Linked DNA regions of Homo sapiens: regions 2 and 3 are each linked to region 1. The links are contacts of gene promoters, found by promoter capture Hi-C in blood cells and fetal thymus (Javierre and others, 2016). All regions are on one chromosome and are shown on one strand. The core of a region is centred on a gene start or on the middle of the fragment in contact, and the rest is flanking DNA. Distances in the headings are between cores, read along the strand shown.

The links. The method cuts DNA at HindIII sites, captures the fragments that hold promoters and counts their contacts. A CHiCAGO score of 5 or more calls a contact.
Region 2: a contact is called between a fragment that was not itself captured here and the fragment with the promoter of LPIN2 in region 1, in 1 of 17 cell types (activated CD4 T cells). The highest score is 5.1, in activated CD4 T cells.
Region 3: a fragment that was not itself captured here is called in contact with the fragment with the promoter of LPIN2 in region 1 in 14 of 17 cell types (naive CD4 T cells, total CD8 T cells, activated CD4 T cells and 11 more); the score reaches 20.9 in naive CD4 T cells.

The regions. Positions count from the first base shown.
Region 1 is chr18:3,011,710-3,014,827 of GRCh38, forward strand. It overlaps LPIN2 (lipin 2), which reads right to left and starts at 1,435. Exons shown (of 20, transcript NM_001375808.2): 1 at 1,378-1,435. RefSeq lists a silencer at 876-1,825. The HindIII fragment of the contact is 8,581 bases long and covers 1-3,118 here.
Region 2 is chr18:2,882,606-2,886,164 of GRCh38, forward strand. EMILIN2 (elastin microfibril interfacer 2) reads left to right here. Exons shown (of 8, transcript NM_032048.3): 3 at 2,359-2,534. Among named protein-coding and RNA genes, the nearest start is that of EMILIN2, 37 kb to the left of the region's middle. The HindIII fragment of the contact is 6,579 bases long and covers 1-3,559 here.
Region 3 is chr18:3,145,355-3,148,761 of GRCh38, forward strand. The region is part of intron 13 of MYOM1 (myomesin 1); the gene reads right to left. Among named protein-coding and RNA genes, the nearest start is that of MYOM1, 73 kb to the right of the region's middle. The HindIII fragment of the contact is 2,195 bases long and covers 746-2,940 here.

The sequences.
Region 1 (3,118 bases), core at 185-2,684:
TGACATACCACAATCAACTACAATGTAATTGGAGGGAAGAGCCGATGTTGGACGGCTATCACACGTGGCTTCACACTGTTCTTTTTCTTCTCTGGCTGGGTACGGCCTGAGGATGACTGCCCTCCAACAACTGAGGATGCTGCAGGAGGACCAGCCCAGCACCTGTCTCCATCCCCTGCACTGTGTGGCCGGCTCTGCCGCTTCTCCCCCGCTTCAGCATCACCTGCCACTTCTTCTCAATCTGAAGCCACTAAGAACGATCAACACCAGACCGTTAAAACATAAACCAGTATGGGCCACTAAATAATTCGTAAATATTTCAAAATGTATTTCAAAACCGACTTTGTATTGTCAAAACATTATAATCTAGCCAGGCCAAGTTTTAATAAACAGTAACACCCATCATCACTACTGGGTAAAGAACTTCATTCAACAGGACCTACCTTGACACCAAGTCTAGAGCCTCGTTTTCAATTAAAAAAAAAATGGGTAAGCCCCAAATGTGCATTAAAAATTAGTTTGGCCATTTACTAAGTAGTCCTTCAAAGCATTTCCAAGTATTCAGAGTTCCAGTACTTTTCGGAAAGGAAGGGTGATCTTTCTGGTACTGGTTTGCATAATTATGCCTAAAAAATGTCATCTTGAATTTTCAATGAAAAGAGTCTTAAAATGTTCAGGCGAGTGGAGAAAATGGTGATCCGCTGGCGTTAGAAGTGGACAGAGAGGCTCTCAGTACAAACTGTATCTGAACGTGTTCCTCACAAATTAAGATCTGCACCGGGGGCTGGGGGGCTTTGAGAAAACTAACCACATTTGAATCCGGTCCACACAGCTTGAAGGCGGAGGTACGGGGCAAAGCGCGGCGGGGAAGAAACACCAGCAACTCGGCGGCCCCCGCCTCGCCGCAGATCACGTGCCCGGCGCCCCCTCCCGCAGGGCCGGGGGCGGGATGGAGACGCGGCCTCCCGCGCGCCTTCCGCACTCCCCTCCGCGCCCCAAACCCAGGGGTAGGGGTGGTCTCGGGTAACCATCCCCAGGGCGGCGGCGAGGGAACTGCGCGGGTTCAGAGTCCTCAGCAGCCACCACTGACGCCCCGACGCCCCCGGCTCCCCGCGCACCCCGCCGGTCCGTCCTGCGGCGGCGGCGGTAGGGGCCGCGTCTACGTGGCGCGGTCGCGGCGAGGCGGGGACTGGGACGCGAGGACCGGGAAGCGGGGACCGCGGCGCGAGGAGGGGCGGCTCAACCCGCGCCGCCCCGGAGGGTCCCGGCCTCCGGCAGGACAGCCCCGGGCCCGCGCCAAGGGAAGCCCCCAGGCGCAGACACTCACCGCCAGCCCCGGAGGGACGCCTGCGAGGAGCCCGGCCCGCGCCCACTTACCCACAGGGGCTCCGCTCCCGGCCAGCGGGCGGCTGAGGGCAGGCGGCGGCTGGACTGCGACGGCTAGGACCCGCCGGGGAGGGAAGCCGAGGGGGCGGGGCCGGTCGGGGGCGCGCGCGGGGTCGGAGCGCCCGCAGCCGCCGCTGCCTTGGAAGCCGCCTGGGCCGCAGCTGAGTCGGGCGGCCCTCATGAATGGGACGCCGCGGCTGCGGCGGCCGAGCCGGCAGCTGGCGGGCGGGCAGCGCGCAGGCCCCGCCCCAGCCACGTGACGCGCGCTCCCGGCCGCGCGCCGCGCCCCCGCCGCCGAGCGCCAGGCGTGCGGCTTCTCACCGCTCCCAGTCCCTGGGCTGCGCGCCCGGGCCCCTGGCCAAGTGAGGGCGGGGCCTCGATTTTCTAGTGCCTCGGGCGACAGGAGCCTTACTTTGTTTTAAAAAAAAAAAGTTTCTTCCGGTCCCCATGGCAACCCTGCGGCAGGTCACGTGGGACTGAGAGCCCAATTGCCAAAAAGGAATGTTAAAGTGCAAAAAAAGTCTAGGGAATGAATGTTTTATAATCCCCTTTTGATCACTAGTAGCACATCTCCTTTGCTTACTTACATCTCCACCGAAAAAAAAAAAATCCTATTACACAACTCATTTTTAAAAATATGCCGGGGTTCTGTTGTTTTTTGTTTATTCTTTTTATCGCTCTGTTACCCCGGCTGGTCTCCAACTCCTGGGCTCAAGCATCCCCGCACCTCGGCCTCCCAAAGTACTGGAATTACAGGCATGAGCCACCGTCCCCAGCATTAAAATATACTTTTTAAGAAATGGGTGGCTCACGCCTGTAATCCTAGCACTTTGGAAGGCCGAGGCAGGCGGATCACTTGAGGTCAGGAGTTCAAGACCAGCCTGGCCAACATGGTGAAACCCCCGTCTCTACTAAAAATACAAAAAACCAGCCGGGCGTGGTGGCGCGTGCCTGTAATCCCAGCTTCTCAGGAGGCTGAGGCAGGAGAATCAGTTGAACCCGGGAGGCGGAGATTGCAGTGAGCCGAGATGGCGCTATTGCACTCCAGCCTGGCGACAGAGAGACTCCGTCTCAGAAAGAAAAGAAATGGGGCCCGGCGCGGTGGCTCACGCCGGTAATCCCAGCACTTTGGGAGGCCAAGGCGGGTCGATCGCCTGAGGTCAGGAGTTGGAGACTAGCCTGGCCAACGTGGCAAAACCCCGCCTCTACTAAAAATACAAAAATTAGCCGGGCATGTTGGCTGCAATCCCAGCTACTTAGGAGGCAGAGGCGGTAGAATCACTTGAACCCGGGGGGCGGAGGTTGCAGTGAGCAGAGATTGCGCCACTTCACTCCAGCCTGGGAGCGAAACTCTGTCTCAAAAAAAAAAAAAACAAAAAAAACTGGATTGCTGGTGCTATATACTATTGGTGCACACTGGTTTTTAATTTGCAGCCTATTCTATTACTATTCTATGATTGAAAGTAATGAACAGAAGCCTATGTTACTTCTATATAAATGGCAGTTAATTTATGAGGTGCATCTTGTGTGTGATCATTTATACAGTTCTAAGGGTACTGAAATAGGCATTTGCATACACAAAGCTGCTCCTTGAAGGATCCAGCTGCAGCCCAGTTTCTTCCCACCAGTGCCTGGTGTAGCTGGGCAGTGCTTGGATTCAGGGAGCAGGCGACCACTTCTTCACTGAAGTTCCTTCTGCTTTTCTGTGAAACTCGATCAAGTTTTGCCCCAT
Region 2 (3,559 bases), core at 475-2,974, 130 kb before region 1:
GCACAGTGGCTCACACCTGTAATCCCAGCACTTTGGGGGCTAAAGGGTGGGTAGATCACCTGAGGTCAGGAGTTCAAGACCAGCCCAGCCAACATGGTGAAACTATGTCTCTACTAAAAATACAAAAAATAACCAGGCATGGTGGTGGGTGCCTGTAATCCCAGCTACTTGGGAGGCTGAGGCAGGCGAATCGCTTGAACCCGGGAGGCAGAGGTTGCAGTGAGCCGAGATCGCGCCATTGTACTCCAGCCTGGGCAACGAGAGTGAAACATCATCTCAAAAAAAAAAAAATATGACCCAGGCATGGTGCCTGTAATCTCAGCATTTTGGGAGGCCGAGGTGGAGGATCACTTGAGCCCAGGAGTTTGAGGTTGCAGTGTACCATGATTGTACCACTGCACTCCAGCCTGGGCGACCAAGTGATACTTATCTCTACAAAACAAAAAACACAACAAAAACCAAAGGAAACAGGGACAGTGGAAGGTGCTAGGAGGTCTAATGGGCTTGGCGGGTCCTAGCTGTCGGCAGGGCCCTCTTGGGATTCTGCAGGGTGCCTAGCCAGTCCCAGCGGGGTGGATCCTATACCCAGAGTGTAATTGTCAGTGTGTGACCCTCGGGGAGGATGTCAAAGGTCCAGCACATGATTTGTGCTTTCCTCAGGGAGGTAACTTTGAAGTCCACCTGCCACAGGGCTGGTGCTTGGGAGGGAGTTGCTTTGCTGGGTAACCCCGCTGCTGCTATTGTCCCGCCTCCCCCCATGGGCAGCTCTCAGCAACCCTGAAAAAGTGACACTCAGCCTATTGCTTTCTGGGAATTGGCTCAAGAAGAAGGCCAGCTGCTGGTGCTGGTGTAAGAAATGAAGAGGAGCTGAAGAGCTTCAAGAGAGATGATTTGCAAGGCAGGAAATCACAATTGGGCTGAAGTAGGGAGGCCCCATCCTGTGTGGCTGTGGCTTTTGCCTGTGCTGTGAGCAGGGGCCGCTGCGGGGGCTGAACTCCTGGCTCCTTCCCTGGTGAGCCCGGGACTGCAGGGCTGTCAAAGTCTGTTGTGGGCCCAGGCCCGGCCTTGAGTCTGGAGGACTTTCCAGCTCACTGCAAAGCTCTCTGTGTGATATTCCAGGGCATGAGGGGATGTGCACTGTCAACAGGACTTTTTGAGTGCTTCCAATTCTGCTTCCTGATTTCTGTCATTGACAGTATGAACCAGGGCATCTTTGTAAAAAGTGGACACAAATAGTGTGAGCTGCCATCTGCAAAAGCTGGTGGCTACCTTTGCTAGCATCAGGAAAGGGAGGTGCAGCGGTAAACACACAGACATGATGGAGAGCAGGGTGCCAGGGATGTTTCTTTCTTTCTTTTTATTTTTTTTGAGTTGGAGTCTTGCTCTGTCACCCAGGCTGGAGTGCAGTGGCGCGATCTCGGCTCACTGCAAGCTCCACCTCCCGGGTTCACGCCATTCTCCTGCCTCAGCCTCCCAAGGAGCTGGGACTACAGGCGCACGCCATCACGCCCGGCTAATGTTTTTGTATTTTTAGTAGAGACGGGGTTTCACCGTGTTAGCCAGGATGGTCTCGATCTCCTGACCTCGTGATCCGCCTGCCTCGGCCTCCCAAAGTGCTCAGATTACAGGCGTGAGCCACCGCGCCCAGCCTCTTTTTCTTTTTTTTGAGACAGTCTCGCTGTGTCTCCCAGGCTGGAGTGCAATGGCGTGATCTCAGCTCACTGCAACCTCCGCCTTCTGGATTCAAACAATTCTCGTGCCTCAGCGGTAGCTGGGACTACAGGCATGCGCCACAACACCTGGCTAAGTTTCGTATTTTTTGTAGAGACTAGATTTCACCATGTTAGCCAGGCTAGTCTCGAACTCCTGGCCTCAAGTGATCTGCTGGCCTCAGCCTCCCAAAGTGCTGGGATTACAGGCATGAGCCACTGTGCCCGGCCAGGAATATTTCTTTAAAACACAAAACAAAACAATCTCTAGTGACACCTGAAACAAATCCCCACAAACTGAATTGTAGAACAGAAGTTTGGTGAAACAAAAGCTCAGTTTGGGGGCTGAAAAGTATCCTTCTCAAATGGGAGTCTTGGTGGAGATTTTCTAAGCTGTGTGTTCCCCTTGCTGGGAAACGGGTGCTCAGGGCAGGTGGAGGATTGGGGAGCCCCTGCCTTCCTGAGGCTGATCTGAGTTAGGCTGAACCCCCCAGTCAGATCTGGACTGAGGAGACCAACATCCCCTCTGGGCCAGCCTGGAGAGCAGGCAGGGTCCTGCATGCCCTGAGTCCTCTTTATTTGGGTCTAGCGCCGGAAGTTGCTTGTAACGGCAGCCAGTAAAGAGAGATGCCATCCCTTCTGTCCACAGGTATCGAGTGAACTTCAGACCTAGATATGTCACTAGGTATAAGACAGTGACACAGTTGGAATGGAGGTGCTGTCCTGGCTTTAGAGGGGGAGATTGCCAAGAAGGTCCCAAAGACCCCGTGAAGACCCTCCGCCCCACGCCGGCTCGGCCTCGAAACAGCTTGAAGAAAGCCACAGGTAACTTCTTATTTGTGCTATTATGTATGGCCACCTTTAATATTTCCGGTGCTCCTTCAAACAACAGGATTTGTGCTTTACAATGGTGAGCTTTGAATGGCCTTCGAATAACACACATAGATACCTGCAGTAGCCACATGTGACAAATTTATTCTCAGGAGCAGTAGCAATTGTAAGACAAACTTCCTTGCAAGTAAATTGCTTTGCTAGGGCCAGCTTGTTGTGAAAGCCAATGCCTTAAACATCAGGGTAGGAAATGCCAGTGGGTTCAGACTTGTGTCACCTGGAGGCACAGCTGTGAAGAGATTCAGATGTAATGATGTACTGTTTGTTTTTACTTGGGCCCATACATCTGAATTTAGGGGGGTTAAAATTGTTTTTTATTTTTTATTTTTTTGAGATGGAGTCTCGCTCTGTCGCCCAGGCTGGAGTGCAGTGGCGCAATCTCGGTTCACTGCAACCTCTGCCTACCTGGTTCAAGCAATTCTCCTGCCTTGGCCTCCGAGTAGCTGGGATTACAGGCGCCTGCCACCATGCCCGGCTGATTTTTGTACTTTTGGTAGAGATGGGGTTTCACCATGTTGGCCAGGCTGGTCTCCAACTCCTGACCTCAAGTGATCTGCCCACCTCGGCCTCCCAAAGTGCTGGGATTACAGGCGTGAGCCACTGTGCCTGGCCATCACTTCATCTTTTTAAGTTCAGTCACAATAAATGCAGCCTAGGTTTTCTTATGAAATTAGATGCTTAAATGATTATATTTTGCCATGAGGTGTTCTCAGGTTTGAAACTCGTAGTTCTTCCCAACATTGTCTGTAAAAATAGATTTTAAAATGACTTTTTAACTACAAAAGTAATGCACATCAATTAAAGAATGTTTGAAAAATATTTAAGGATACATAATCTCATGACTAAATGAGAACTACTGTTGACATTTTGTTATAGAACCTTACTCTCTTTCCTATGTCTGTACATTGATTTTGTTAAAGAAAAATTCATTTATCTCACAAATATTTATTGAACTTCTA
Region 3 (3,407 bases), core at 593-3,092, 130 kb after region 1:
TCACCAAGATAGATCTTTTTCTGGACCATAAAACAAGTTCAAGAAAATCTACAAGGATTCAAATAACACAAAATATGTTCTATTTAATTTTCATAATAGAATTAAATTAAAAACAAATAAGAGAAATATACTTGGGAAATCTGCAAATATTTAGTAACTAAATAACATACTCCAAATAATCCATGTATCAAAGAAGGTATCAAAAAATTGGAAAGTATTTTGCACAAAATAAAAATGAAAACACAACAGATCAAAATGTGTGAAATACAGCTAAAGGAGTACTTAGAAAAAAATATTTAGCACTAAATGCATGCGTTATAAAAGAATACTTCAAATTAAGGACCTCAGCTTCTACCTTAAGAAACAAGAAAAAAACCCAGCAAATTAAACTCAAATAAGCAGAAAAAAGGAAATAATAAAGATAAGAACAGAAATAAATAAAACTGGAAACAGAAGAAAAATATAGAAAATCAATGAAACCAAAAGCTGTTTCTTTGGGAACATCAATAAAGTTGATAAACTTCTAGTCAGGTCAGGACAAAGGAAGTAAAACACGAATATTAGGAATGAGAGAGGTGACACCACTACAGATTCTGCAGGTATTAAAAGGATAATAAGAAAATATGAACAACTTTATGAATGAAAAAGTTTCTTGAAAGATGAAAACTATTAAATTTTACTCAAGAAAAAGTAAATAACCTGAATAGTCCTAAATTTATTTTAAAAATTGAATTTGCAGTATAAAAGCTTCCCACAACAAAACAAAACAAACAAACCAAAAAACAAACCTCCAGGCCTAGATGGCTCTGCTGGTAAATTATACTGAATGTTTAATTAAAAAAAATAATAAAAGTTAACACAAGCTCTTTCAAAAAATTAAAATAATGGTAATACTTTCCACTCAGTACCCCAATACCAAAACCAAACCAAGACTTTACTGGGAAAAACCACAGACCAATATCTTTTATGAATATAGACACAAAAATTCCTTTAAAAATTTTTAGCAAATAAACTCCAGCAATGTATAAAAAGGATAACACAGCATAACATAGTGACATTCAACCCAGGACTGTGAGGTTTAGTTTGCGTTATTTATTTTATTTCGGTTTAATAATCTAAAATTAATCAATGTAATTCAACATGTTAATGGAAAAATAAAAATCATACGATCGTCTCAATAGATACAGGAAAAGCATTTGACAAAATCCAACACTTTTTCCTAATATAAACTCTCAGAAAACCAGGAGTAGAAGAAATTTTCCTCAACTTGATAAAGGATAGCTATACAAAACCTACACTTAATGTTAGACTTAATGGTGAAAGACTGAATGCTTTCCCCCTGACATCAGGAAAAGGCAAAGATGACCAGTCTACCACTTCTATTCAACATTGTACTAAAGGTTCTAGATGGAGCAATAAGGAAAGAAAAAGAAATAAAAGGTATCCAGATTGAAAAGGAAGAAGTTAATTTATCTTTACTTATAGATGGCATAATCCTGTAATAGAAAATCCATAATAAATTTCATAAAAAACCCTAATGTTTGTGAGAATTAATAAATTAGTTCAGCAAGGATGCAGGACACAAAATCAATATACAAAAATCAATTGTGTTTCTTTATACTAGCATAAAAACAAATTAAAATAAAAAACAATACCATTTACAGCATCATCAGAAATATTATATATAAATATTATATATTATATATAAATATATATCTTATATATAAATATTATACATTATAGATAAATATATATATTTATATATAAATATTATATATTATAGATAAATATATATATTATATAGAAATATATATATATAAAAAGTCAGATACTCTAACTTTTTGTCAGAGTTTGTGCAAAAACAGAAAGGCAGTAAAGAAGGTAACTTATTTTCAATTCAAACAAATCTTATTTTGATTGGAATTGATAAAAGAGGAGCAAACGAATGTATGAGATTATATCTATAAAAATGTGCAGGACCTGCTCACTAAAACTACTACTAAGGTGAGAGAAATGAAAACAAAGCTAAATGAATGGAGATACAGGCTATGTTCATAAATCAAAGGACTCAATGCTGTTCGGCTGAAATCCCAGCATGTTTTTTGTAGAAGTTGATAAGCTGATTTTAAAATTTTTATAGAAATGTAAAGACAGAATAGCTGAAACAACTTTGGGGGGGAAAAACCCAACACAAGATTAGAAGACTTATACTGATTTGAAGATGCTAAAATTTATATATGAAAAAATGAAGCTCAGAAAAGCTATAGTAATAAAGACAGTATGGTATTGATGGAAGGGGAAAAAAATTGACCAATAGAGATTCCAGAAATTGATCCACACATATGTAATCAATTGAATTTGACAATGGTGCCAATACAAATTCGTTGGGTAAAGAACAATCTTTTCAATAGATATTGCTGAAATAATTTAATAGCCATATGCAAGTATGAACGATAGTAATAATTGAGGCCCTTACTTCTTGTAATGTAGAAAAAATTAATTTTAAATGCATCACAGAGTGAAAAGTAAAAACTAATGCTATAACATTTCCAGGGGGAAAAAAACAGGAAAAATACCTGGATTTGACAAAGATGCCCAATGTCACAAAAACTGGCAAATAAACACATGAAAAGATGCTCGACATTATGAGTAAAATGCAAATCAAAGCCACAAAGAAATACCACTATGAACCCACTAGAATGGCTAAAATTGAAAAGACTGGCCACACTAAGTGCTAGTGACAATGCGGGAGCAAGTGGAACTCTCACGTAGGGCTGGAGGGGAAGGGAACGTGGTACAATCATTTCAGAAAACAGCTGGCAGTTCCTTTAAAAATTAAGCATACACCTACCACAGAACACATCCATTCAACTCCTAGGTATTTACACAAGACATAAATGAAAGCATATGTCCACAGAAACAGTTAAGAATGTTCATAGAAGCTTTCAACAGTGAATGGATAAATACTTTGGAACGAATTGATACACACACCAACGTAGATAAGTCTCAAAATAATTATGCTGAGTAAAGAAAAACAGACAAAAATGAACATGATTCAACTGATCTACAATTGTGGACAATGTAAACTACAGTGGCAGAAAGCAGATCAGTGATGGCTGGAGATGGGGAAACATGAAAAGGAGGAATTACGAATGGGCAGGGGAAATTTAGGGGTGACAAATACGTTCATTATTTTGAAAATGGTGATGGTGGCCGGGCGCGGTGGCTCACGTCTGTCATCCCAGCACTTTGGGAGGCCGAGACGGGCGGATCACGAGGTCAGGAGATCGAGACCATCCTGGCTAACACGGTGAAATCCCGTCTCTACTAAAAATACAAAAATTAGCCAGGCGTAGTGGCGGGCGCCTGTAGTCCCAGCTGCTCGGGAGGCTGAGGCAGGAGAATGG